Regions from separate parts of the Homo sapiens genome. Here all the other regions are linked to region 4. The links are contacts of gene promoters, found by promoter capture Hi-C in blood cells and fetal thymus (Javierre and others, 2016). All regions are on one chromosome and are shown on one strand. Each heading gives the region's core, a stretch centred on a gene start or on the middle of the fragment in contact. The rest is flanking DNA. Distances are from core to core; before and after follow the strand shown. Region 1 has its middle 39 kb from the start of FOXN3-AS2. Region 2 overlaps EFCAB11 (EF-hand calcium binding domain 11). Region 3 holds the start of LOC107984635 (a long non-coding RNA gene). Region 4 holds the start of GALC (galactosylceramidase). Region 5 overlaps TDP1 (tyrosyl-DNA phosphodiesterase 1). Region 6 overlaps FOXN3 (forkhead box N3).

Evidence for each region. Contacts are between HindIII fragments. The CHiCAGO score rates a contact against its expected background, and 5 or more counts as called.
Region 1: a contact is called between a fragment that was not itself captured here and the fragment with the promoter of GALC in region 4, in 1 of 17 cell types (fetal thymus). The highest score is 7.5, in fetal thymus.
Region 2: a fragment that was not itself captured here is called in contact with the fragment with the promoter of GALC in region 4 in 1 of 17 cell types (fetal thymus); the score reaches 7.1 in fetal thymus.
Region 3: a contact is called between a fragment that was not itself captured here and the fragment with the promoter of GALC in region 4, in 1 of 17 cell types (fetal thymus). The highest score is 5.7, in fetal thymus.
Region 5: a fragment that was not itself captured here is called in contact with the fragment with the promoter of GALC in region 4 in 7 of 17 cell types (total B cells, activated CD4 T cells, naive CD8 T cells and 4 more); the score reaches 11.4 in total B cells.
Region 6: a contact is called between a fragment that was not itself captured here and the fragment with the promoter of GALC in region 4, in 1 of 17 cell types (total B cells). The highest score is 5.2, in total B cells.

The regions. Positions count from the first base shown.
Region 1 is chr14:89,612,507-89,617,439 of GRCh38, reverse strand. It overlaps a transcript of FOXN3 not described here. Among named protein-coding and RNA genes, the nearest start is that of FOXN3-AS2, 39 kb to the right of the region's middle. RefSeq lists enhancers at 490-549, 2,807-2,896. The HindIII fragment of the contact is 2,027 bases long and covers 479-2,505 here.
Region 2 is chr14:89,936,457-89,941,291 of GRCh38, reverse strand. The region is part of intron 3 of EFCAB11 (EF-hand calcium binding domain 11); the gene reads left to right. Among named protein-coding and RNA genes, the nearest start is that of EFCAB11, 16 kb to the left of the region's middle. The HindIII fragment of the contact is 1,484 bases long and covers 655-2,138 here.
Region 3 is chr14:89,425,161-89,430,073 of GRCh38, reverse strand. It overlaps LOC107984635 (a long non-coding RNA gene), which reads right to left and starts at 1,720. Exons shown (of 2, transcript XR_001751025.2): 1 at 1,654-1,720; 2 at 1-736. It also overlaps a transcript of FOXN3 not described here. RefSeq lists enhancers at 371-1,570, 4,632-4,913. The HindIII fragment of the contact is 3,380 bases long and covers 1-3,235 here.
Region 4 is chr14:87,991,899-87,996,372 of GRCh38, reverse strand. It overlaps GALC (galactosylceramidase), which reads left to right and starts at 3,191. Exons shown (of 17, transcript NM_000153.4): 1 at 3,191-3,403. The coding sequence starts at 3,209. It also overlaps the pseudogene RNU6-835P. RefSeq lists enhancers at 2,854-3,183, 2,878-3,378 and a silencer at 3,334-3,523. The HindIII fragment of the contact is 1,583 bases long and covers 2,628-4,210 here.
Region 5 is chr14:89,958,836-89,963,440 of GRCh38, reverse strand. TDP1 (tyrosyl-DNA phosphodiesterase 1) reads right to left here. Exons shown (of 17, transcript NM_018319.4): 3 at 1-333. The coding sequence starts at 326. Among named protein-coding and RNA genes, the nearest start is that of TDP1, 5.2 kb to the right of the region's middle. RefSeq lists an enhancer at 1-565. The HindIII fragment of the contact is 2,643 bases long and covers 1,132-3,774 here.
Region 6 is chr14:89,303,364-89,307,997 of GRCh38, reverse strand. All of the region lies in intron 3 of FOXN3 (forkhead box N3), which reads left to right. Among named protein-coding and RNA genes, the nearest start is that of FOXN3-AS3, 45 kb to the left of the region's middle. RefSeq lists enhancers at 2,640-2,909, 3,823-4,022, 4,123-4,182, 4,213-4,282. The HindIII fragment of the contact is 4,731 bases long and covers 766-4,634 here.

The sequences.
Region 1 (4,933 bases), core at 243-2,742, 1.6 Mb before region 4:
GACAATGAAAAGCAAACAATCAAAATCAGCCTGCACACTATTCTGAGAGATTGTGGCATCTGCTTTGAGGCGAATGCATTTCACATCCAAGAGGAAGGGCATTCTGCACCATATAAGAATATGAATTAGTAAACACTGTGAAATGTTATATCTGTAAGACAAACTGTAAAGCCCATGAACATCTTCATTTGAGCCTTTAAAGCGATTTCATTAAAGAAGCACTGTCCCAGAAGTTGTTAAATGTATAAACACTTTTCTGATTGGCTTAAAAATTTAGACACAGGAAGTGGATTGTATCTAATAACCGATGAGTGGAGACATGGTTGTTATGGAAACCGAGAGGAGTAACCCCACCCCACCCCCACTACACATACATACTCTACCATGACCACCACTTAAAAAGAAACAAAAACAAAAACAAAAACAAAACCTGCATGTCATCACAGATGCCTGGAGAACTTGTTGGCTTCTGTAAGCTTTCCCACAGCATCTGTTGAAACCTGAGATCGCGCCTGTCAAATCAAGGTCATTTTACAACAACAACCAAAAATGTGGTCTCCTAGATTTCATAACTGTATTTTTGTTGGAAATATTTGAGGAAAGAGCCTTAAACTAAGGATGAGCCCCCAGGCTTACTTTGCATTTTGCTACCTCTGAGCTGTGCAAGGGAAGGCTAAGAACAATGTATTTGAACACTTAATTGTGGGATCAAACTGACTTGTATGTCTACAGTTAGAACAAAACTCTTTTGAGAGCCAGAAAGGTTAGAATGTTACCTGTGGATGAGGATTCATCGGGGGAAGTTATAATGAGGTGTTTGTGTTTACAAGAGGGTTCAAAGTTGAACTCAAGCAATGGAACTTACAGACTGGTGGCATTTTGAAGGCTGCGTTTGTGTGTGGGGTGGTGGGGGTGGGGTTGGGGAGTGAAAGGGAGGGATGAAGATTGCCTGGTACTTTGGGAAATATAAGAGAGGGTGTTCTCAGAGGCTAACCAGGGAAAGGAAAATCTAAATGAAAATAAGAACTGTTTCAAAAATCCCATTATTATTACCCAGTTGACTTAAATAGAAAAGTTTCCTCTTTTGTGGATGGGGAAGAGTGCTTTTGTTTTTAGGATAATTGAGACGTTCCCAGTATCAAAATTGCAAATATTTCCAGTATCTTGGTAATGATTTCCATGAGGACTATAAAGAAAAAAGTTTGGAGACCTCCCCTCCCCCTAGCCTCCACCCCCAACCCCGTTCATTTTGCTAAGCAAAAAATAACCAGAGGCCCTGTACTAAATTTTGACTTTGAGGATCAACATCGAACCTTGTAAAATATAAAGCAAATACATTTCTTATATTTTTCTAATCTTGTTAATGGCAGTCTTCAGATTTTATGTTCTTGATATTCATTTAGAAACGTCTTCCTTTAAGTCATGGCAATTTGAAGCATTGAATAGCTTTATCTTAATTGATAATGGTCAGTTTTAAAACTTGTTCAATTAACAATTTGGTCTTTTTAAAAAGCAGCAAATTTCCCTTATTTTCATCAACTAATTGCATGGGGAGTGGGGAGGAGGAGAGTCCTAACTCTATTTTAATGTTTAATATTCTGCATGTATGTCGTAGAAATATATACTGTAGAAGTTAAATATTTGACAACATGGGATTATGAAATATATGCTAAATCACCCAGATATTTAACTGATTAGGACTTGGTAAAGAAGATTAAGTTTAATGGGACAACTGGTCTCTTTTAGCAAGGATTTCCTGTAGGGAGCTTTCTTATCTGCAAGTGTGTTCATTGGCAGGAAACATGTCAGTTGCTTGTTTTTACAAACTGAAGGAAATGAATGGGATTTGTTGGTTTCTAGAATCTACCTTCATTCTCTATTGTCTTGCAAATAGTTGGCTCAGAACACTTCGTTTCGAAAGGGGCTTTGGAGTGGTACAATTCATTCTCTGCAAACCTGTGGCATTTAGGTTTATTTCTTTCTGATTTTGGAATTAGGAAAATTGATCGTGGTACAACCATGTGCAACTTATTTTCCTAATACAAATGAACAAGATGTTCAATACAATTCCAATTCATTTTCAGTTGTCAGCTAGTTACTCACACACTCACTGAAGCTGCTGTTTTTGGATGGCTATGCCAAATTTCTAATAATTATTCCAGAATACCAACCAAATGCCAGTGTCGATTTTGGATTAGTGTAGAGAGGTAAAGAGAAAGAGGCAGCTTCATTCTTCTCATTGCTTATAACAAAAGGTCCATAAAGAATACACGTTAGGTATATGCCAACCTTGCTGATAGCAAAAAAAAAAAAAAAAAAAAAATCGAAATTGGGGATGGGTTGGCTAAATCCAGTTTATAGTACACATGAGAAAAACAAATTTTAACTTTGAAAGGATTTGCTGTGCAGAAGTCTGGATTAGTTTCTGAATGTTGAAAATGAGTATATTTAATTGCTTCAATTCCTAGATGTTTCAAATTCGGGAAGAGGAGAAAAGGGTAAGCTTCTTTAAAGGAAAATAAATGCATCCGCCTCCATTTGCAGAGAGCAGCCTGGTGAGGGAGGTTAAGAGTGCCTGAGGGAGACGGAACCATTTCTTGCAATGGTTTGCACACATTTTCATAGACATCATTTTTGTTTTCTACTTAGCAACAAATAGAATCTTATGCAAGACCCTAATATATGAGTCAAATAAAAACAGAGCTGCTCTGAGGGAACTAGGAGCCCAGAGCCTGCTATTGTCACCTGGGCTGTGCCCAGGGCACACTCTGGAACCCAGTACCACTGTGTACACAGTTTGCAAATCACTGCTTCTAAAATGTTCTCTAGAGAAGACCTTGGGGAATTGCTTGCAGAGCCCTGGAACCTCTTAGCGAAAGAGAGAACTTTTGCCTTGACAATTTAAGAGGCTGCTTGTGCTCATAGTGAGCAGGAAAAAGGTGGCAATTAGTGACGTAATACAGTGTACCCTAGGAAGCCTACGTACATACAGAAAAAGATGACTGACCACAAGCATGAAAGAGCCCTGGCCCAGTCTATAATGAGAGGGAAGGCATATTTTTAGGGGTTACTTATAAACCAGGGCCCCTTTTATTTATAAATTATAGGAACATCATATGGAGGTGTTTGAGATTAGTTGGTTATAATTTTGCTGGAAATGCATGGCTTTATTCTATTTCCACCTCAAGATCTGTTCTATCACTGTTATTCTATTAGTCAGTGAAAATAATTTCATATGAAGTGTCATTCATGAAATGAAAATTTGCCAAGCTATATAAATCTGCTTGGCAGACTCAGTAGTGTTTTGAGTGTTGAGTAAAATGATAACACACAGATGATATTTGCATATCATCAAATATATTCACATTATCTCCTCAATGATGAGATTGTTCTGAAATGGCAGTATTGAGATCGGGCTCAGTTTTCCCCCTTACATCCCAGAAGCTGTCAGTATTGAGGATTTCTAGGGGTGGCAGGCAGAGGAATCCCCTTCAGTTCCACTCTTGATTTTCACAATCACTAGATTCACCTCTGCCTGGTATGGAGATGAGAAATCAGGAGACTCTTCATTCAGGCAAACCGCAGTAGAACTGTGCTGCTCATGGCCACAGCCAACCTCCCTGCATTGTTTCTCAGAGGGAGTTCAGTTGAGGAGTCTATAGAAGTAGAAAGGACAGACCCCTCTGTACATTCTCCTGTTACTTTCATTGTGCTTGCCATGTTTCTACTACCTGCATGGGGTTAGAGATGACAATTAAAATAATAAGTTTTCCAGGAAGCCAAAGATCTTCCAACAATTTGTGCTGGGAAAAAAAAATTACATATGAAATATTTCCTTTACAAAGATGAAACTAGCATAAGGACCAAATAGTTGGCTGTGGTAACGATGAAATGATCGAAATGATGGTGGTTAACTATTGAATTGTGTTGACTGACGCTTTTCATGTTGAGGCTGTTTAAAGCTATCTCCTTCCTCCTCCCACCTGCATTTCAAAGAAGAATGAGTGTGTAACCAACAGAACCGTCCCAGGGTGTACTCATGATAATGGAGCAGTGCTTCTTTGGGAGTGAGCATTAAGCTCCCATGGTTTGGGGGACTTTCTTTTTGAACTGAAGGATACATGCCAGTTACCAGGACCTTGCTGAAGTTGCTAACAGGTGGCTTCTCCAAATGTGTGCCTAGTACCTTCGCAGTGCCTTTGCAGATGCCACTTTCTTAAGGTTCAGAGAGTAGCAGGTCCCACTTGGAGAGGGATTTTAGTATATTATACAAGTTTAGATTTTAGATAATGTAAGAGTTTTTTTTTTTTTTTTTTTTTTTTTGAGACAGAGTCTTGCTCTGTCGCCCAGGCAGGACTGCAATGGCGCGATCTCGGCTGACTGCAACCTCCGCCTCCTGGGTTCAAGCAATTCTCCTGCCTCAGCCTCCTGAGTAGCTGGGATTACAGGTGCGTGCCACCACGCCTGGCTAATTTTGTATTTTTAGTAGAGATGGGGTTTCACCATGCTGGCCAGGCTCGTCTGAAACTGCTGACCTCATGATCTGCCCACCTCGGCCTCCCAAAGTGCTGGGAGCACAAGCGTGAGCCACCGTGTCCGGACTTTTTTTTTTTTAAGCAGGGTCTCACTCTGTCACTCTGTCACCCAGGCTGGAGTGCAGTGGCACAGTCAGGGCTCACTGCAGCCTCGAACTCTTGGGCTCAATGCAGCCTCGAACTCTTGGGCTCAAGCAGTCTTTCCACCTCAACCTCCCGAGTGGCTGGGACCACAGGTGTGTACCACTATGCCCTGCTAATTTTTTATTTTTGTAGAGATGGGGTCTCCCTGTGCTCCCCAGGCTGGTCTCAAACTCCTGAGCTCAAGCAATCCTCCTACCTCAGCCTCCCAAAGTGCTGGGATTACAGGTGTGAGCCACCACACCCAGCCAGTTTAA
Region 2 (4,835 bases), core at 147-2,646, 1.9 Mb before region 4:
TCTATAGTTGTTAGGCATTAATTTCAAATTTGGTTCTGGACTACCTAGCATCCAGAACAAATAGGAAAACACGAGCAAGCACAGCTGCAGTCAGGGTCCATGCAACAAAACAATTTTTCTAGAGAGGCATAAGTCCTCCTGCCCTGGGATAGTTCTTCTGTGATGTCTCATGGAGGGGAGGCTGCTGAGTGGATGTCAGTGTCGATGAGCTGTTCAATAAATGCAGTAGTGAATTTTGTAAGGCTGTTGCTTCATCTTTTCTCAATGTAGACCAGTGTTTAATGTCAGGGCAATTCTATGAAGGGCAAAGGCTGTGTGTTCCAAGTATACATATCTCAGGTGGTCTGACTTTATTCCAGAATAAATTGTAGATCATTCTATATAAATAACAACAGCTAAGATTTACAGGGCTTTTCTTTATGCTAAAAGCTATAAATAAGAACTGAATGAGCATTGTCCCACTGAATCCTCATACATTTGTCTCTTTGTTATTATCTCGGATCTATGTAAAATATGCCTAAGATTAAAAACCAGAAAAAAGGACTTCAGAATTTTGTTTTCACTAGGCGATTAGATTGAGCATCTTTTCTGTTTCCTTATACTATTGCCATTTTAAATTAATGAACATATTCTACTTTGATACTTGAAAAAGCTTTCCAGGAACTTACTTTTAACCCTCAACTTTGAATGATGGAAAAATCAAAGCGATTGATTCATCATAGCAGTAATTATGGACTGTGTGACTGCTATCCAGTGTAAGGTCCAATTGAAAAATAATTTGTGGATGAGTAGGTTAATGGTCAGTTGGCTTGCATGCTTTTATTTATTAATATCTTGTCTGGCTTGTTCTAAACAAGACAGTTGACTATTAAAGGTATTATTTTTCTAAATTTAAATATCCTTTTTCTGGTCTTAGTTTCTGTCATAAAACACCTGCTGTTGTGTATGGTTTTTTATTTTGGCTCCTATGGAACAAAGATCAGGGTATAGCAGGGATGAAGGTTTTGGTTGATTTCAGATTTCAATTGGCTTCTTAGTTCTTTTCTATAATCAGGAAACTGCATACACATTAAGGTTACCTTATTTTGAAATTATAATCGTAGCATTTTATGGAATCTCCTACAGATATTCACCCATCCATGTTTATTTAATTACCCATTTAGAAAACAGTGAATATGTTTCACTATACAGATGGGGAAGAATTAGGAGACACAGACACTGACCTAAAGACATTTAAAAATATATATTTTATGTGGGCTGGGCACGGTGGCTCACGCCTGTAATCCCAGCACTTTGGGAGGCCGAGGAAGGTGGATCACGAGGTCAGGAGTTCAAGACCAGCCTGGCCAACATGGTGAAACACTGTCTCTATTAAAAATACAAAAATTAGCTGGGCGTGGTGGTGGGTGCCTGTAATTGCAGCTACTCCAGAGGCTGAGGCAGGAGAATTGCTTGAACCTGGGAAGCGGAGGTTGCAGTGAGCTGAGATCCCGCCACTGCACTCCAGCCTGGGCGATAGAGCAAGACTCCATCAAAAAATGTGTATATATCTTATGTGATAGGGAAGATGAAAGAAATATTGCCACTTCTTTTACGGCCAGATGTTATATTACTATTATAGGCAAGAAAACCTATAAGAGTTCAGGAGGGCAGCACTGCCCCCTAGAGGAGGTGTGGGCCTGGAGCTGGACATGCTGAAGGATGGGTGGGATTTGAAATAGTGATGGAGCAAAGGAGAAAAGAGGCGGTAAATGAATGCAGGGCAGGTGCCAGCTGTGTGCCCCGCCTCCTGCTCCTGTTGCTGGTGCTGTGCTCTCTGTGTAGAGTTCTTCAGAGACCCTCTTCTGTGCTGTCCACGTCAGTGCCTGAAATCTTTTCTTCCTAGATCCCTGTTCTTTTACAAATCTCTCGCCCATCTCAGATTTGCATACCTAAATATATCAGCTATCATGCTGTTAATGCAGTCCTCCCATTAACAGAATCTACTCTTCTTGGATTTTTACTTTTTTTTTTTAACCTCTGCAACAGCAAGGAATATAGTATGTAACTATAAATGAATTGTGTCCAGCCGAGTCAGCTGGCATGATGAGAGCTGGGAAGGATTAAGGACCGGTGTGCACGGAAGGAAGGATGAAGCTTTAAAGTCCAGAATAAGGTATTAGGACTTTGTGGTGTTTGACACTGAGGAACCTTTTAAGCTTTATGAGCAGGAGATGTGTATAATAAAAAAGTAACAATTCCTGCCTGGGTTTGATAGAAATAAGATTTTATTGGTTCAGATTTCTCTATTCTACTGTAACTGGTTTTTTTTTTTTTTTTTGCTTTGTTGTTGTTGTTGTTGTTTTGTTTTTTGAAATGGAGTTTTGCTCTTGTTGCCCAGGCTGGAGTGCAGTGGCGCGGTCTTGGCTCACTGCAACCTCTGCCTCCCGGGTTCAAGCCTGGAGGTGAACATGTGATTCTTCTGCCTCAGCCTCCTGAGTAGCTGGGATTACAGGTGCGGCACCACCTCACCTGGCTAGTTTTTGTGTTTTTAGTAGAGACAAGGTTTTACCATGTTGGCCAGGCTGGTCTTTAACTCCTGACCTCAGGTGATCTGCCTGCCGTGGCCTCCCAAAGTGCTGGGATTACAGATGTGAGCCATCACACCTGGCCTCTAACTGTTTTTACTCATTTTCCCTCCAATTATATAGTAAAACTTGATTTCTTCCATTAAGGTAGATTATTTTCTCTTTATTTCCCTACACATCCATAGTAAGCTGGAAGAAAATATTATCCTCTGAATTCATTTATCATAGGTGACAACTCACTATTTTTGAAGTCACTTTCACCTACCATCCTTGCAGTCTTTCTGTGCGAACACATTATATCCTTCTCCCACCCCTTCACTGTCATGGCCTCCAAAAGTCATAATTTGAATTTTGTGTCTCAGACTAGAGAAGGCATTATGTCTTTTGAAAGACTGCTTCATCCTTTTAAACCCTAATTTTTAAGCATTTTTTTAACTCCTGGAAAAATCAATATGTGACACAATGAACATGAACCCTTCCTTTCTACTAAATCTAGGACCAGGCTTACTGTCCAAATAACTTGCGATTTTTATTGTTTTCTCCTTCACTCTCCCCAGGTTTATTGCAGTTTCTAAGTTGAGCTCACTGTGATAGCCAGATGCTAGACTCCTTCATTTTCAAGAGGATTTCTCTGTGTGCACTGACCCTGAAGCTTAGAACTGTGAACCACAAAAAACTATACTTAATGGAACTTTCAAGTAAAAAATTTATATAGTTTTGTTAGACTTTTTGAATTTATCTTCCCCTGTGGTGAAAGATGATTACCCTCCTAAGAAACTGCTTAAAAACAAACAAGTAAAAAAAAATAATCTTTCTAGTCTCTCTCTCTCTATATATATATCTGTCATAGATATATATACATGTATTAAGTAGTTTGGAAACTAAAAAATATGTACATGTTGGCCAGGTGCAGTGGTTCATGCCTGTAATCCCAGTACTTTATGAGGCCGAGGCAGACGGATCACAAAGTCGGGAGTTCGAGACCAGCCTGGCCAATAGGGTGAAACCCCGTCTCTACTAAAAATACAAAAATTAGCCGGGTGTGATGGCACACACCTGTAATCCCAGCTACTCGGGAGGCTGAGGCAGTAGAATCGCTTGAACCCAGGAGGTGGAGGTTGCAGTGAGCCAAGATCGCGCTGTAGCACTTCAGCCTGGCGACAGAGTGAGACTCCATCTAAAATATATATATATATGTTATAGAACATGAAGAGAGTCCATTTTACCAAGGATTGTTTATAAAATGGAAGGAGATGTTTTCCAGTTGTACAAAAAAATGCATGGACTTGCAGGGTCAAGAAGGATTTGTAAAGATCATTGGTCCAGTGGTCTTTAAACCACAAACCTCAATCCTAGATCCTTTGGGGACACATTCAAAGACACTGTTGGATAGGGAAGAATGGGAAGCCCACCCACTTCAAACCAAATAGTTCTTCCTTCATCTCCTCTACACATGAGGCTTTCCATTTTCATATAAAGAAGAATCTTTCCTACAGCTGAAAAAAGAAATAGTTTGCCAACTATTGATAGAGTCTAATGACCCAGGCAATTTCTGAATACCTTCTGCAGACATATTAATAATAAACACAGATAAACACATAGATCTGTGTGGTTCCTAAGGTTGTGATGCTAATTTGTAACCACGGTAAAGGATGTTTAGGTAACTATTAGTAGTGGAACAGTGTGCACAAATGACTCAACATTGTATTTGAAATTAGAATTTTCTGAACATATTCTTCCTCTGGAGGCGGGGTGGGAGGGGACACAGGTAATATATTTCTTATTGGGTATGAAATCTGATGTCAGTAGAATTACTGAAAGCCTTTGTGAAGTGGTAATTTTAGGTTTGAATGTTGTGACAGCAGGTGGAGCTAGTAGTAGGAACTCTATTTCTAGGTTATTTAAAGAGCTAGATGTATACAGCTTACATTAATGTGTTTTCATTGCAGAGCTTCAGGAATAGCATGTTACTATGTATTGGCTTTGGAAAGTGATCATATTACTACAACATGAGAGCCGAGCTGAACAAAAACTCCTCTGTGCTTTTTAGAAAAGGGTCTTGTATTTGGATAAATGTTGCGTTAGAAGATTAAGACAATTAAAGGCATAGAAGGGAGGGGATATGTTCACACAATATATGCTTGATGAGTTTAACCCCTAGAGTATGGACTTTAAGAAATAAAAGCATATGATTGTGTGGGAAAATAGTGTGAAAGAAATTGATTACACATACGGAGTAATTTTTGTTATTGGATGGGTTTTCCTTTT
Region 3 (4,913 bases), core at 296-2,795, 1.4 Mb before region 4:
ATTGCTTGTAATAACTAATGGAAAAAAACTCAGAGAAATAAATGTGTAACAGCTGTGTCTGCTTAAACTTGATTAAAGGCAGTAAAAAAAAGTAAACAGAAGAACGAATGTGACAATAGACAAGGGGGAGACAAGTATCTCTCTCATTGTGAAAACTTTTACAGGCATAACTTGTTCCACTTTGGAAGGCCAGCGATGTCTGTGTTTAAAGTTTACTTTACTGTTTGTCTTGAGTGGGATCAGTGTTGTAGTGAATAATTTATAGCCAGCATGAATGAGCTCATTAGTCACCTTTTCAGACTTTAAATGAGTTTTGTGGTTGTCATTACTCGAGCCTTCTGTTCAGCCGCGGAGCAAAATGACAGTTTGGCAGTTGTTGCTGGGGCCGCCTGTTCCCCTTCAGGTCTGTGTTGGCTTTTGTATTTCGTTGAATCCTTCCCTGGCTAACCCTTCGCTGGTCCAGGCAGCAACTCTCCCACTTCACATGCCTTTTGCACCCCAAGTTTAAATGAGAAGTTTTTCAGGCTTCAAAAAAAAAAAAATCAGTTGTGTCTGCCAGAGAGAATGGGGGAATGAGGTGGATGAAATGAGCTTTTTCCAGCAACTCCTGGGTATGATTCCCTTTGTGCTTGGTTTGATATTCAAGCTACTCAAAAGCAAAAAGCAAGCCAGTGCGTTGAGAGGCAGCGGAGCCAGGCTCCCACATGGTGCCAGGCGTTTTAGACCGAGGATGTCACTGGAATTTGGAGGGAGAAGGATGTTTCAGGGTAGGTTTGAACTGTTTCAATTCTGAGTATCAGTGTGATGAGGGTAAAGAAACTTGCTACAGCAAATAAATCTGCGAGGCCAGATTTCCACGGACAAAGAAAACTGCATTTTTTCTACAAAGGGGTTGACAGCATGACTTTTCAAGGTCGCAGCCAACACGGAGGTCCAGGATCACTGGGAATGGTCATTACCTCTTCCCCATCTCTGTGCCTCCCAACTCCAAATCATTAAGAGAAAGCGAACTGTTGCAGCTGCCTCCTCACTGAGCCCTTGGAGACATGCCTGGGAGGCTGGTATGTGGGGAAGACAAGCCTAGGCATGCCAGTAGCAGGTGGGATTTCTTTGGAACGGATGTCATGAAGTTCATCCCTCCCATTGAACCTGGCCTGGGCAGCCTCCGGAGAGCTCTGCCATTCACTCCCTGGGACTGGCCTCCATCCAGAAGTCCAGGACACCGTGGCATGCCCACCTTGGTCCTCAGGTAGCCTCTGCAGGCACTCGTGGGGCGTGGAGGCCTGCGCAGGGTGCCTTGGCCAGGTGCTTGGACCCCTGCGCTGAGGTCTCTCTGACGTCTGCTGCGAGCAACAGGCACTCATGGCTGCCGTCACCAACGTGGGCAGCACCCCCTCCGGGACCCATATTGTTAGACAGCTGGCCTGGCGCTGTGTGAGGCATAGAGGAAACATGTTCAGGATTCCTCTCTGGAAGCAATGCCAACTTAAAAAGGACGCCTGGTTGTTTGGGGGCCAAATCTTTGAAACCAGTCAGAATCACGTCTTTGAGTGCAGAGAAGTGAGGTGCTGTTGAACATACCCACAGAAAGAGCTAGCAATTCACCTGCTTGCTTCCTTTCCAGCCCCGACCCTTTTAAGATTGAGTACTCACATGCAGTCACGTCTCACAATTTCTGGACACCTTTTGCCTGCACCTCAACCTCAATATTAAAGGCACAAGATACACTATTTTGGGAAGGAGTGAGGATTTCAAAACAGAAAGGGTTGGTGAACTTGACTAGCCAATGAAAAGAGACTTCAGGTTTGGCTGTTGTAATAAATGGAATAAATTGCTAATCTCCAAAAAAGAACTTTGTGCTGCAGGGAAATATGTTAGTAATCATTTAATCTATATTCTGTTTCTCAGAGAGTTCATCAAATTCAGAGCTCTTACTTTGTTTTAAAAAGACTCTCGTAGAGAGAAGAATCAATTGTTTTCTTTCACACCCCTCTGAAAAAGTAAAACGAGAGAAGTTATTTCTTGGCGTGGATAAGACTTTGGCAGACTTAGCCACCGAAACCCATGAGACTATGGTACTTGGTGTACTCACTAAAGAGAGGAAAACAATAAAATCTCTTAAAAACTTTGGAGGAGGAAAATGTTGATGAGGCTACTTTTCTCTGACTGATCTGTAGAGTTAATAGATGCCAGCTTGAGAGAGGGATAAAAAGGAGACTTTTTTTTTTTCCTGTTAAGTGATCAATATTTTTTATTACCACTGTGCCATGTGCTATGAGCAGAAGAGAAAACAGAGTCCCTTGCCCCTCAAGGCACTTACACTCTGTTGGTGACGTTCAGTATCTAGTTGATTTATTTTTTTATTACAAAGATACACCATACTTTGTTGATTATGACATAGAAGTTGAACTTTGAGTTTTTGCAAGTAGTGCCTTTTCATTCAGTTAAAAAGTCCTGGCCGGGCACGGTGGCTCACTCCTGTAATCCCAGCACTTTGGAAGGCCGAGGCAGGTGGATCACGAGGTCTAGGAGCTGGAGACCAGCCTGGCCAAGATGGTGAAACCCCATCTCTACTAAGAATACAAAAAAAAAAAAAAAAAATCAGCCGGGCGCAGTGGTGGAGGCCTGTAATCCCACCTACTTGGGATGCTGAGGCAGGAGAATCGCTTGAACCCAGGAGGCGGAGGTTGCAGTGAGCCAAGATCGCACCACTGCACTCTAGTCTGGGCAACAGAGCAAGACTCCATCTCAAAAAAAAAAAAAAAAAAAAAAGTCCCCTTTTCCTTCCTCCTCTTGTGCTTTTTTTCTTCTTTTTCTTTTTCTTCTCTTTTCTTTTTTTTTTTTTGAGACAGAGGCTCACTCTGTCGACCAGGCTGGAGTGCAGTGGCACGATATCAGCTCACTGCAACCTCCACCTCCCTGGTTCGAGCATTTCTCCTGCCTCAGCCTCCCAAGTAACTGGGAGTACAGAAACCCACCACTGCGCCCGGCTAATTTTTGTATTTTTAGTAACAGAGTTTCACCATGTTGGCCAGGCTGGTCTCGAACTCCTGACCTCAAGTGATCCACCCGCCTCGGTTTCTCAAAGTGCTGGGATTCCAGGCGTGAGCCACCGCGCCCGGCCCTCCTCTTCTATTTCTCGGTCACAATTTTGTCTCCCTTGTACCCCACGGGTCCTGTCCTTCATGTCCTAGGCCCCTGAGAGGTTCTCTAAGAAGCCAGGTGTTCTGAAGCTTTCCCAAACTCACTGTGTGGGTTCAATTCCCAGCCCCATCATTTACCGGCTGTGTGTTATGAGCAAGTGGCCAAACCTCTCTGTGCCTCAGAATCTCAGTTGATAAAATGGGGATAATAATAGTACCTACTTCACATGATTAATGTGAGGCTGAAATGAGTGAATATTTTCGGAGCTTTAGAACACTGTCTGGCATCCAGTTAAGTGCTATTTCGGTGTTTGTTAAATGCAGTCAGTCCTCATCATTGGTAGTTTTTGTATTTGCGAATTCACCCTCTTGCTAAAATTTACCTGTAATCTCAAAATCAGTACTCCTGCCCGGGCATGGTGGCTCAGGCCTTCCCAGCACTTTGGGAGGCCGAGGCGGGTGGGTCACCTGAGGTCAGGAGTTCTAGACCAGCCTGGCCAACATGGTGAAACCCTGTCTCTACTAAAAATACAAAAAATTAGCTGGGCGTGATGGTGGGCGCCTGTAATCCCAGCTACTCAGGAGGCTGAGGCAGGGATAATCACTTGAACCTGGGAGGCAGAGATTGCAATGAGCTGAGGTCATGCCACTGCGCTCCACCCTGGGTGACAAGAGCAAGACCCTGTCTCAAAAAAAAAAAAAAAAAAAAAAAAAATCAGTACTCCTGGTGCTTTTGTGGTCACTCATGGACACGTACAAATGAGTCATTCAGTGTGCACGTTCCCAGCTGAGGGTGAACAAAGTGATGTTCTGCCCGCTTGTTTTGGCTTTCCAAGTGTCCTTTTTGTGGTCTGTTTAGTACCACATTTTTTGCATTTTTGTTCATTTTGCTGTTTGAAACGGAGCCCAAGCACTGCTGAAATGCTATCTAGTGTTTCTAAGTACAGGAAGGCTGTGGTATGCCTTATGGATAAAATGTGTATTAGATAAGCGTCATTCTGGCACAGTTCGTTGTGAATGAACAACAATATATATTCAAAAAGCTTCTTAAATGGAAACACAGATAAAATAAATATCAACAAAATTATGATGTGATAATATATCAGTAAAATTAAGTTTTCATTGGTTGATGAAAGGGTTGTGAGTGGAGGCTCACAGGAACCTAACCCCATATTTCCCCTAGGAGCAATGATTCAGGATTTGTTAATTCAGTGTTTGTGACACTTTATAGAACACAACTACTATGAATAAAAATAATCAGCTATAGGCTGGGCGCGGTGGCTCATGCCTATAATCCCAGCACTTTGGGAGGCCAAGGTGGGTAGAACACCTGAGGTCAGGAGTTCGAGACCAGCGTGGCCAACATGCTCAACCCCGTGTCTATTAAAAAAAAAAATTAGCCGGGCATGGTGGCACAAGCCTGTAATCCCAGCTACTCAGGTGGCTGAGGCAGGAGAATCACTTGAACCCAGGAGGCAGAGGTCGCGGTGAGCCGAGATTGAGCCATTGCACTCCAGCCTGGGCAACAGAGCAGGACTCTGTCTCAAAAACAAAACAAAACAGGCCAGGCGCAGTGGCTCATGCCTGTAATCCCAGCACTTTGGGAGGCCAAGGTGGGTGGATCACGAGGTCAGGAGTTCAAGACCAGCCTGGCCAACATGGTGAAACCCCGTCTCTACTGAAAATACAAACAATAGCTGGGTATGATGGCATGTGCCTGTAATCCCAGCTACTTGGGAGGCTGAGGTGGGAGAATTGCTTGAACCAGGA
Region 4 (4,474 bases), core at 1,942-4,441:
GCAAATTCTTGAAGTGTTTCAGATTAAAAAGACAGAGAGAGAAACACTGTCATTACTTTTTAAACTCATTTAAAATCTGAAAACTGGGACCTTCCTTTCTTACCGTCTTATCTCACTGACCCTGATCCACAGACGCAAGGGAAGCTAAGCATATGATCACTCGTGGGGTAACTGTCATTTTTCTTTATCTCACATCTTGAGCACATTTGAGTGCCGTGCCCAGCACTCCAAGGATTTCTGTCAGCATGTATTTATTGGCCTTTTATTAGAAACTTTCTTACCTCATGTCTGCTCTCATGAATATAGATCAGAAATTAGAAACAAAAAATATTTATCTGGTAAGCAATTTCTTTGGTAACTGAACTAATAGGAACTACTGGGACTTCCTGGAAGTGAGGCTACCTTTTCCATTAGAGTTTATGCTTCCTCTTTTGTAGACTTCACACATTGCTCAAATATTTGTGGCGTGCATTCCAACTACAAGGTGCAATTGAGGGACGAGAAAAGGGAAAACTTAGTTGGGCAGACAGCTAAAGTTGGTCTTTGGTAAAATTCTTTTAAACAGAAAGACAGCCTGAAAAATCAAGCTACAGGCACACATAGAGTGGCCTGGGGAAAACTCAGGCAACAGCTGCCCTGATAAGAAAGGAAGGCCCAACATAGAAGCCTTTTGTTCTTTGTGTGATTAGCAGGTTCCCAGGAAAAAGTTTCTTCCCCTTTTCAGGCACATACATGGTGGGCTCTGTGGGAACTTGCATGGGGGTGGAGAGGGTGATTACCTAGAACCCACAGTTACACAAACAAGAGAAGCTGAACTTTATCCTTACCCAAGACATACCCACAGCTGCACAGATAAGGGGAGCTGCACAGATAGCTTTACAAGTAAGTTACACAAACAGCTACAGAGATGAGAGGAGTTTCTTATAAAAGCTTTTGGATTCAACTGTAAAAGTGGCAAAATGGCAAAGAAAGAAAGCTTTCTTCTTTCATATAATAAACTTTCTCTTCAACCTCACTCTGGTGTCCACACTCCTTAATTCTCTTGGTTGTGAGACAACAAGCTTGGATAACACCTCAGACAACGAGACCACTGACCACTGACCCGTTTCACAATGACGTACTACAGGATGGTGTATGCTGGGTATTCATACATCGTCATGCAACTTCCTAGTTTTATGTGTAAGGTAGTTTCCTCTGTCATCACCTTGGTATTTCCCATCTAGTCACGGTATTAAGTGGGTCTTATGCGCTTGTTAAGAGCTGGTAAGAGAAGCTTAACATTCACTTGATGGAATGGTTACTGTGGCTTGTATCCACAGGAGCTCCAGCTCATGCTTAAAATACTGTGTTAGAACAAATGGATCAGAGTGAATTCTGTAACAGTAAATCCACAGAACTGAAAATTACTGACTTGCATCATAAACTGGTTGCAGTGGCAAGGCAGAGAGTTCAGATTCGTGTTGTACTGGGGAAAGAAGAAACCAAAGAAAATAAGTGGTTCATACACAGGGGACTATTTAACTGATCCAAGCCAGAAGACTACTGAGGGTGAAAGGAGCATTATCAGTAATTATGTTTAGACAAAAGTTGTGACTGTCCTTAGTAAACCAGGATAGACGTAGAGTCAATTCAAAAAGAAAGAAAGAACAAACATATCTAATGTACATTAAGAACCCAGGGATATCGGGTTCTTAATGTGCATATTTATTGGATTGCCCAGAGCTTTGACCTTCAAGTATAATTGAGTTCTTGAAACTTAGATTTAGGTTTGTGGTTAAGGGGCAAAATAATCAGATTCCAAATAGGGTTCTGCAGACAAATCCCACAGGTCCTAAAGTCTCTGGGTCTTTTCCTTGCCATTGTGGTATCTCAGGGGCTTGTGTAGGCAATGATAACCAGTTCCATACTTCTGCTAAGAGAAATTTGGGGATCAGAAAATCTTTCTCTGCAGCTCTTCAGAGTCTCTTTAATTTACTTCAATAACAAGGAAATCAGAAATCTCAGGACAGTGCTGGATGTGGCAGAAATTCAGGGCAATTCACAACTTTCCTACCAATTTAGAGTTACCTGTCTGGAATCACTTCAACTGACAGTGGAAGATAGTTTATAAAATTGTAGGGGAGGCAAAATTTCACCTTCGTCCCTGTAGGGTCCCAGCATGGCCCTAGTATTAAATTGATTTAAGATATTAATAGACTGACAGGAGACAACCACACAAATGTTTATTTTACATAGCACGGGGGCCCTCATTAAAAAAAAAAAAGACCTAAAGCAGCAGTTAAGAGCCAATTGCTTATAGAGTGAAATGGACAAAAAATAGTAGTTGTGAAACATGATAAGGCGAAGGGGCTTGGGGTAAAGAAGCGACTAGAAAGATAGGGATTAACAAATTTTGTTTGGACAGATTTCCCTCGACTTCAACTTTCTGTCCTTGAAGATAACAATGTTATTTTATAGGGAAGACATCTTTCACATGGGAATTTCATCTCCTCCTTTTAAGACACATAATATCCATGACAGTGATCTTGCACCTGCTGTTTTTAAGTGCCTTTAATTTAAAATAGTCAATATGCCACAGCAGCATATTTTGAGGTGGTATATTATTAACTCCTTCAAGGCTAAAAGCTTTGAATATGCCGGGGTAGTTACCAGACTGGAGAACCTTCTCAGCTATTTGCCACTTGTGGAATGCATTCAAATGTACTGAGTGCTTATTAACTTTTCTCTCAGTCCCTCACTCTGCTGCTCTTCTCGCCTCATCTCACATAAGGGAAAACTCAGGCTCCAAAAGCAAAGTGATTCCACCAAGATGACAATGGAATCGGGACCTGGTGTCCAAGCCTGGTCCTCGCACGAGGTAGATACTCCCTGAGATGCTGGGGAAGAGCCATGGTAGGGCCACTCATGGCCCTCTTCCTTTGGCGGACCTTGGAATCCACCTTCCCTGCGTTAAAGTGCTCCACCAGGTGACGCCGGAAGAGAAGCCAGCAGTAAGTACATGTGAAATCCAGTAGCTGACCACAGACACGCGAGCGATAAGAAAAAGCTCGCTGCTTCTTTTCTCAACACTCCGCCAGCTGCGTCAGAGGCCCTTGACCCGCACTCAAAATGGCGGCGGCGGCGTCAGCATCAGCGGCCTCCTGCCCGTATCTATCGTGGCGGCGACGGGACCCGCCTCCCTGGGCGCCGGAGTCATGTGACCCACACAATGGCTGAGTGGCTACTCTCGGCTTCCTGGCAACGCCGAGCGAAAGCTATGACTGCGGCCGCGGGTTCGGCGGGCCGCGCCGCGGTGCCCTTGCTGCTGTGTGCGCTGCTGGCGCCCGGCGGCGCGTACGTGCTCGACGACTCCGACGGGCTGGGCCGGGAGTTCGACGGCATCGGCGCGGTCAGCGGCGGCGGGGTGAGCGGCAAGCTGCGGGGATACGCGGGGGGCGGCAAGAGCCCGCCCCGTGGGGCCAGCCCCACAAGCCCCCGCGGCGTTGCCCTGCGTTTCCACCGGCTCCACTCTCCGCCGCATTCCCCTAGGGTGCCAGTCAGCAGGCGGTTGGGGCGGGCCCGCTGCGGGGCTGGGGCGGGTGCTTTCTCGTTTAACACGAACCAGACAGGCAGTTAGGTTTGAACAAATGAGGATCCGGAGGTCCAGAGAGTATAGGTGCAGAGAGTAAAGTGACAGGTCTAAGTAGTGAAGTAGCCGGGGCTGGAACCCTCGTCCCAGGCAGTGGGGCACAGGCTGTCTTCATCGCGGAGATGGCAGTCGGGGAGCGTCGCTCCAGAAAGGGCCAGGGAGTGCGGGAGCGTCCGTGTGCGAAAGAGAACGCCCCAGTGGGATGCTTTGGCTGTGTCTCTCCCTTTTGGAGGAGTTGGTGGGTGGTGGAGTCGTTAAGTCCCGTGCAGTTGTTAGTGCAGGGTAAGAATGGGCTCCTCCAGAGAGGGTAGCGCCGAATAGGATTTCGTTTGGAGGCAGGACTGGTGCCTCAAGGTCTCTTTAAAAGGAAGATAAGCGAGCGGCCTGAAACTACCGGGTACTCCCTCTGGGCCCATGGGCTTCATGGTGGCCGACCTTTGGGTGAGAAGGTTTTTGTTTTTTGGTTTTGTATCCGAAATTACATCTAGGGCTAATGTTTCTTGAAAATGTTAAGGTTGAACTCGGATTTTTGGGGTTGAGTTGGATGGAGCTTGCATCCTTACATTCAACTCAGAACAAGCTTGAATGCCTGCTGCAAGGATGACCTGGTCTGTAGTGTGACCACAAGATATAACCTTCTGCTAGGGGAAATTTTTTTCCCCCTGGAGTTAGCTGATCCTTTTTGATTTTTATGTTTTCATTCCCTAATTTGCAATCTCTCCAGCCGTGCTGATGTGTATTTCAGGGGAAACCTGTGGGCCGATGAGTTAATGCATTTATTCTTTGCTACTACTATTCTCCTTTTTATGTTTTTGGGCTAAACCTGAAACAGCCAATATTTCATGG
Region 5 (4,605 bases), core at 1,204-3,703, 2.0 Mb before region 4:
ACCACTTTCTCAGCCTGCTTCTGCGGCATTTCTGGTTGCAGCTCATCATCACTGCTGGACAGACACCAGCCGAGGTCCTCCTGGGAACCGCTTTTCTGCCTTTTGGGAGGTAAAACTGAATCTGTATTGCTGAATTTCACAGGTGATATTTTCCTCTTGTGTGCAGCTTTCTGGGCCTCGGAACAGGTGTACCTGGGCTCATTTGCTGCTCCTTGCCTGGCACAGAGAAGAGAAGAGGTAGATGGCTTGTCTGGTTTTGGCTTTTCTTCCTCACTTTCATCACTACTAGATATGGTCCACCTCCCATAATCGCCTTCCTGAGACATTATACTCCTGGAAATGAAAAGTGGAAACATCAGCATTTCCCATTCATCAGGGCATTGGCAAAATAACTTTATTGCTCTCAACTTCCCTGTCAGATGAGCTGACACCTTCCAGAGGCTGAACCACCTAACATCAGCTGCTTTTTGGGTGTTTATAAGCACATTACCAGAATCCACTATCAGATTCTGCCAAATCACAAGCAAAAGTCCTGGTCACCTTTCTTTTTTCTTCCTTTTTTTTTTTGAAACAGGGTCTCGCTCTGTCACCCAGCTGGAGTGGTGCAGTGGTTCAATCTCAGCTGACTGCAACATCTGCCTCCTGGGCTCAAGCAATCCTCCTGCCTCATCCTCTCGAATAGCTGGAACTACAGGTGCACGCCATCACGTCTGGCTAATTTTTTTTTTCTTTTTTTTTGGTAGAGACAGGGTTTCATTATTGTTGCCCAGGCTGGCCTTGAACTCCTGGACTCAAGAGATCCACCCACCTTGGCCTTCCAAAGTGCTGGGATTACAAGTATAAGCCACCATGCCTGGCCTTGGCTTTCAATCTAAACTTTGTTCTTAGATGTCCTAGGAAAGGGGGTTGAAGAATGCATCAAGACAAATGCCAAAATAAAACAAACATTCATTCTTGACCCCGAAACTTCCAATAAGCGTTTGGGATTAAGGTCCATTTAATCTATGTTCAAATGCTTAAGGTCAAATTGGAATTTACAAACCTAGCCTTCACCCAAGTACAGGCACCCACAGGACTTCAGTGATTATGTATGTCTTACTTCCCAAAAGACAACCCATTTACCATAAAGCTTAACAAAGTCTTCAAGAGGAAAGCCAAATGACCACTTAGGTATGTACATTATTTACACTACTTCCATGAGGACCCAACTAATTATAATTAGTTGGATATAATTATATCAAGATATAATTATCCTATTGGCTACATCATAAATCTACTAACACCTACACAGAAATAACTTGTACTGAAGCAACACACTTTTATTTTTTAAGCCCCACAGTCAAATTCTACTTTCTTGTTCTGAGAACAGGAAAGTACACGAAACAGTCACTTTTGCTGTTACCTACCAAATCTTGTCAATTCAGTGGTAAAGGACTATCTAAGTAGACTTTCCAGACAGCTAAAGAACAGTTCCTCAATGTGATACTTTTAACATTTTAGCACAAGACCCAGGGGAAAATTACAAAACTCAGTAGTCTGTGCTCAGATCAACAGTATCTTCGAGTTTCTGCTGTTTTAATGAGGCTGGAAAAGATGCATTGAGTGGAGTAAACCAAGATGGTGACACTCCCTTCACAAAACCTACATTCCCCAAAAAAGAGAATTCAACATTATTCTACATCAAAAGATTTGCAAATCAATACATATGCATATGTCTCTAGATGAGAACTAAAAATAAAAATCTTGGCTAAGGGGACCCCAGAGAAACCTTAAAAACTGAGTTCCGGGCCATGATGAGATGGGAGCTCAGACATGCCTGTTATATCCCCTCCCTTCTGCGGTTTAAACACAACTGACCAGAGATCGTAAGACTGGCAGAATAGATTCTGTGACAATATGACACTAAATCATAAACAAGACCTAAGGCCATGCCAAGCAAGGGTTAAATCACACACTGCTACCTTTAAACTATGTTCTACCTTCCACAAGGTTCTTTTTTCTTCAGCAGCTAAATAAGCACTGGCCTAGAGATAAGGAATATCTAAACAATTGCAGCTCACCTACTGCCAGATGCTTGACTAACTGACCCCTCTGGTTCCACAGGCCATGACTGCAGCTGTCATTGGACAATGGAGTAACTTTCTCCTGAAAAGAAACCACAGACTGGTTCTGACCAGTCCTCAGAGGCTGAGCACTGAGTGCCTTCATGTCTCTCCTTCACCTTTTGACAGAGGGCCTAATTGTAATTCATTCAAATGTTAAGTCTCCATCCCAAAGTGAACACGAGATGCACAAAACACACGTTTGCTCATTACACATGCACACGTGTCCCCCCTTGGTGAATATTCATAGCTCCTCCCACACCTGTTGAATACTATACTTGGCCAACCCATTCAGTATAAATCTCTGTTCTACCCTCTCCTCCCTGGGATGCCATTAAAGGTCTCTGCCTGAGGCTGTGCTTCCCAGCCTGTCAGGCCACACTGCAGGCTGTAGCCCTTTATAAGAACTAAGCTCTCCTTTCTAAATGTATAGATCTCATGATTTTTTCAGTGAACACAGCAGGGCGGGGCAGGGGAGGGTTGGAAATACTTTAAAGGTATCTATCCCTTTTCACAATTTCTCTCTTCACCTTTTTCAATTAACTACCAGTCAAGTTAAGCAAGCCTTCTGTAAATTACACATTTCAAGGAACTTTTATGCAAGAATGCATCAAGACAATAATCTGGCCCATTCTTCATGGCTCTGGGTCATTATTACCCTACCCAGCATGAACACACTATCTCACAGCCAAAGCCTTATTGACTGTAGAGAGGGCTGGGGCCACTTGCTCCTGTAATAGTGACCCTAGACTGTCTGGCTCTTTTGAGCCCTCATATCTGCTTTCTAAAAGTTTCTATTTATTTCTACACTCTGTCCAGCCCACTTCAAGGGGTTGTTAAAACTCATAGCATAGGTATATTTTCCCTAAATTGTTTCTAATCTGCTAAGGGTTAAGAAACTAGATAACTGGGTTTGTAGAACTGTATTGTCATGGTTAAAGGGGTCTGAGTGCCCAGTTTCCTCCATGAAAGAGATTCAGATTGATTTACTACTCAACACCTACTTAAGCAGCTCAGAGGTGGTTTTTTAAATGTTTTTAATCCTTCCGGTTTGAAAAAAAAACCCACAAAACCTTAGGTTCCTCTAGTGTTCTAGAGTCTAGAAGTTGCTGGATAGGGGTATTTAAGCTGTTACAATACACTTTGAAGAAACTATTTCAGTGGCTACAGTTTCGTGACTTTAAAGTTATCTAGGAACAAAAGAACCACCTTAGGAAAAACCACTCTCTGAATGTCAGCTCTAGGTTCCTTTGAATTCTACAACAGTTCTAAACCAAGGCGGTGAGTAATAGAATCTTCCATTACAGTCCTCAGGCTGTTCTCTATAGATACCTTGCCCATTCTAAAGTAAGTAGCAGGTCTTAGTTTTTGGTGAGAAAGGATTCAGCTTCCACTCTCAGAAGCAGTTGCAGAATCTTAAGAGGCTACCATAACAAATATGGTTGCCTGCATTATATAAATAAAATGGAATTTCCAAACACTGAGAATTCTGTGCTAAGTACATTATTATGTACTAAGAGTTGCTAAGGTAAAATCCTTAGCAACTCTGTGAATTATTTAGAGAATTTCAAAGGTTTTTAAGTTTTATCATTATCTCCATTTTCTAAAACCATATGGAAGTGGAATTCCCTCCAACAAAGTAGGACAAGAGGATAAAAAATAAAACAAAGCTTTAAAAAAGACATTTTCTAGAGAACAAAGCCTTTTTTTGGGGTTCTGCTCTATAAAGTTTTGGACCTGCTGAAACTCAAAAATATGCCTGAGTTGCTTATTACAACCTAATACAATTTATTGGGTTACAATTTAGTGCAACAGACTAATAAAATTGTGTCTTGTTGTTAAATGTAGCAGCTTACCAACCTCTTTATGACATCAAGGCTCCCGCCCAGTTGGAAAAGAACTGCTAGTAAACACCAATATCAAACTTTTACTTTGGATAACTGGTCACCAGTAACAGAATTTACTTCCCTCATAGAGGCTCTGGTGCCCAGCATTTCAGAGTGCTTTGTAATCAAGTCATACAGTTTTAAGAAATGTAGAACCTGAGAGCTTTCCTTCAATTGTTTATCATCTGTCTTCCCTGCCTGGGCAGTGCTTGGTACAGCATAAATCTGAAGTCACACTTTTTGTAAGTGGTACTGAAAGAATCAGAATACAATATAGCTGTGTTGATTCTGAATCCTGGCACTCAATCAGAACGGCACAGTGTTTCCTGAAGTGGAAGTGATTGGGACCTGACATTATGAAAGTACTTCCCTTTCCATTCCAATCCAAACTCCCTGTTTAAATCAAGAAGAAAGTTGTAGTGTTGTAGAAATGCTTTTAATCTTGATTTTGAACAAATAGCAGGGTTTGGGCTCTTCTGCAGGCACCAACAATTTTGTTTACCATCAACAGAAGGTATCTTATGGCTACGTTATATTTGAAATAGCAAAATAAAGTTTATTTTATGTAAAAGAATGATTGGATTCAAACAAAAATATTAAGTATATGATAGTCTATG
Region 6 (4,634 bases), core at 1,882-4,381, 1.3 Mb before region 4:
CCACTGCTCCCGGCCTAATTTTTCATTTTGATGTTATTTTCATGCTCTTCTTCCAAAAATGCAAATACTGACAAAACTTGAAGATCTTTGTTCTTTTCTTTATGTCGGTGCAGAGTGTACAAAAGTTACCTATATCGGGCACACATTGAAATTTGCATTAGCAGAGACTGCTATAGGATTTACTTATGAGTGATTCTGAAAGGTTAAGAATGGCACTTTTTCTAAGCTTTGGTTGAGGTTGGGATTGGGAAGGATGGTTCCTCTCACCATGGTTATGCAAAAACTATGGGTTGTAATAGGATGCAAACACGTGTCTCCCAAGAATAAGCAGAGGTGCAGGCTGCCAACGAGCTTTAAGAAATACTGTGGCTCGGTAAATGGAGAACCGAAGGGAGAGAGGGTAGCAAAAGCAAAGAGACCTTTGGTGTTTCCGACTTTCACGAGAGCCTGTCCAAATTTTCATCTGCATCAGCACTTTTCTAGCAAAGTTCACCGGCCATCCAGCATTATCTGGTGGGCGGCCTTATTTACACACATATATATAATTGATTCCATATTCCTCTCAGACCTACAAACAGTACCCATGTTTGTTTTTAATAACCAGAATTATTTCAGCTTAAAAAAAGGTGTAGATTTACATAGACAGTCTGATGAGTGCCTCAGATTGTTCCATTAGTAACACAGAGGAGAAACAATCTTAAGAAAAACATTTTGAATTTGTGTGTGGAGGTGGAGAGAGGATTGGGTTAGTGAAATCAGAAAGCTTCCAAGTAATGATTATTACATTTAATAATAATTAGATTAGCGTTCCACAGGGACTGTTTTCTGGAAATTTTGGTAGGACAGTCACTGAGTAACACACACACTCAGAGCAACCTAGGTTTCAGGCCATTGGGTGGGACATGGCCTATTTGCTTTGTTTTGGTCGCGTTTAAAGTTAATCCAAAATCAATTTCTTTTTCAAGATTAAAATGTCACTACTCTGTCTTCCACTTCAGGCTTCTGCAAACTTTTTCTATGAAGGGTCATGTAGTAACTGTTTAGCACAAAATAGACGTACACATAAACAAGTGAGTGTGTTGTGTCCCAATAAAATGTTATTTATGGCATTGAAGTTTGAATTTCATATAATTTTCACTTGTCAAGAAATAATATTCTTCTTTTGATTCTTTTTTCCCTGACCATTACCAAATGTCAAAGCCATACTTAGCTTCCAGCTAGTACAGTTTGGTTCATAATTTGCCAACCCCCGTCCTAGTTCTGACTTTGTAGTCAGAATTTTGTCTTTTGGGGAGAAAACTCCACTTTGCATATGAAGGAGAACCAAAATGGGCCGGGCGCGGTGGCTCACGCCTGTAATCCCAGCACTTTGGAAGGCTGAGGCGGGCGGATCACGAGTTCAGGAGATTGAGACCATGCTGGCTAACACAGTGAAACCCCGTCTCTACTAAAAATACAAAAAAATTAGCCGGGCGTGGTGGTGGGCGCCTGTAGTCCCAGCTACTCAGAGGCTGAGGCAGGAGAATAGCGTGAACCCAGGAGGCGGAGCTTGCAGTGAACCGAGATGGTGCCACTGTACTCCAGCCTGGGCAACAGAGCAAGACTCCGTCTCTCCGTCTCAAAAAAAAAAAAGAGAACCAAAGTGTGTGTGTGTGTGTGTGTGCATGCGTCTGTGTGTCTGTGAGTGTGTGTGTGTGTGTTGAGCTTTTCTGTTTCTTCAGCTCCCCTCTTGGGGATGAAGCAGGGTCTCTAGACATTAGAACTCCGGTTGTTGGAGCCTGCCACCAGCAGTTTAGTGCTGATGGCAAGGAGGCTCGCCTCAGGGACTGAAAAACTCTTCTCCACACAGAGAATTCTAAATGACTCTTGAAATAGAGGGAATTGAGAATGCAGACAAAGGCAGAAACTTGAGAGGAAAGCTGCTGAGCATTATATGCACATAGCTCTGTAAGGGTTGTGAAAATGGTGGTGGTGTTCTCATAATTTCTTTGCAAATATATATGTATTTTAAAAGGCTTAGGTCTCTCAGCTGCTTCTTTTCATCCTTATTCTTAGAGAAGTAGGCAAAAGACATGCTTCCACAAATTATAAACACCTGGTTTTGTTTAGTATCCTATTGAGGGAAATTAGGAAAGTTGCAGAAACATTCAGTTTTCCTAAATTGTTTTACAAAACCTGTGACAATGCACTGCAGACATATGCATTGTATTTAGTTAGATCCGTTTAATAAGAATCATTCTTATCAGGGCACCTCCCAAATCCTTCATAAATATAAGGCTTTTAAATATTTGTCTCCTTTTATAATTAGTCTAGATTTAGCAGTGGGTCTTCCTGATTTGGGAGGAAGCATGCTTCATGGTTGCCTGGCAACAGCTAATCGTGGTATTAGGGGCCAACAAAACAGTTGGCAGAAACTGTAAATTCTTTTGTCTTGTTAACAAAAAATGATAGTTAAAGATACAGCAGTATGTTAAGTCTGTTCTGTTGTTCAAACATATAACTTACGTGATAAATTCCTATGCTAATATAACCTCAGTGTGCTGCTCAAATTTATAGCTTGTTTAGAGAACCTGCTCACTTCGTACTTGGGTCACATGTCATCTGCTCATGGTACTGAAACTCATCGGGTAGGACAGTGATGTCATAGAGGCGTCCTTTTCTCAAGGGCTCTTAAGATGAATCTGAGGTTTTTGTTGAACGATGGGTTCTGAAACATATGTGAAGCTCCAGCATAAACGTCTGAAGTCAGGATTCTGGTTCTTAAGCAGGAGCCGCGAGTTCACCATCGATGACCTCAGTTCCCATCTCCTAGTGGCCCTCAGTGGGTACAGACACCAGCACCCGGCCTGTGTGATCCGTCCTGGTGCTGGCCAGGCCTTCCTCTCGTCCCCTCCAGATCAGCCGGGCTCAGCGTAAGTTTTCTAGGACAACTTCGTAAAATGAATTCTCATTTCATAAGCAAATATAGTGTGAGTCATGCTTTGGCCACATAGAATTAAGAAGGAAGAAAAAACACTATTTATTTGGTTGGTACTTTTTTTTTTTTTTTTTTTAAGAAACTACACTGTATTCCAGATTTGTCCGCAGATCACTGTCAGCTTCCTCTCCTCTGGGTATATGTTTTTAAAGGACGTTGTCTATTATGGGTCAGGGTCCCCCGCTCCACCAGGCACTTCGGTGTGTATTTTCTCACTTAACTCCCAGCTCTGTGCAGAAGGTCTGGGAGACACCAGTGCTTAAGCCAAGTTTTATGGGGGCCAGACGAGGAGCAGCCGGGTTGAATGCCCAGGTTTTCTCTGGTTTCCAAGCCCATACTCTGCTTTATCCTTAGTTTTGGGCCCAGTTTTCAGAACACATCCAGAATCATCCATTTGCCCAGCAAACCAACATAAGGTATCAAATGAATGGCCAAGATGTTGAATGTATTTCATCCTTTGTTTCCTTGATTTCTAAAAAAACAGCCCTTAGATATTTTTAACAGAATTTTTAAAAAGCACCCCCTGTTGTCTAAGTTCTCTTTTCTATATGATCTTTGCCGCCTCTCCTGCCCCCACCTCCACCATAGTCAGAAATCTCACATCTCAACAAACATCTCTCTCCTGTCTTCACCGCGGTTCTGCTCACAGCCACTTTCCCCTTCAAACTGGACATTTTGGATTTTCCCTGCTAACCTTACCGCCCCTTCCCGCCCCTTCCCGGGCTCCAGCTCAGCAGGAAGAAATGTCGTCAGCAGAGGCTGCAAACCCAAGCCTGTCCCTTTTCAGTGGTATTTTTACTACGAGCTGAACTACTTCAGCATCATGTAAACACGCTGGAGTGTGTTCACAGCTGCCTCTCTTTTAAAGTTGAACCAGCTCAGAACTAAAAGGGGAACTGCTTTCAGGTTCTGTTCAAGTTTGCATGTGACAGCATCAAAGCTATTTTTAGCAGAGTGATCACCGGCAAGAAGCTGGAAACGGCTGCCTTCAACTATCAACAGTGGAAAGAAAGGATCATTTATGGACTGCTGCAGCTCTTGAGTCCATTTATATGGGAGACACAGGGGTGTGTAAATCTCTTCTTCAAAGTTACAAGGCGTCTTGTCCCCCATCACCTTTGCAGAGACAGGGCAGTGTTAATTTAGTGCTTGGTTGCCTGGGCTCCAAGTTAAAGTAGATACACTGATAATAGTGAATTATAGGACTGTCCTCAATGTCTGTTCTGAGAAGAAGGCGATGTATAGATGCTCAGAAACATCCATTAAACTTTTGAAGTGTTTGTATTGTTTCTTCAGTTTTCCTTTTCTTTTCTGTAGATCACCAAACTCAAGAGACAGCAGGAAACGGGAGGTAGTTATGTAAGCATCATGGCAATGAAGAGAGCATGAGTCACTTACTAGCCATGCGACCCTCATTAAGTGACTTTTCCTTTCTGAATTAAGTGTTCTTAGCTGCAAAATGAGGATCATAATACCAGCCCTATATACTTTATAGGGCTAGTTTTTTTTTTGTTTTTTTTTTTTAGCAGATGTTTATTGAACACCTACTCCATGCCAGCTCCTGGGGACATGAGCTGAATCAGATCGTCAGTGTCTTCAGAGAGCTCACAGTCTAGCTCCATAAATAACTAACTTATAATACCCTGTGTTTCATGGA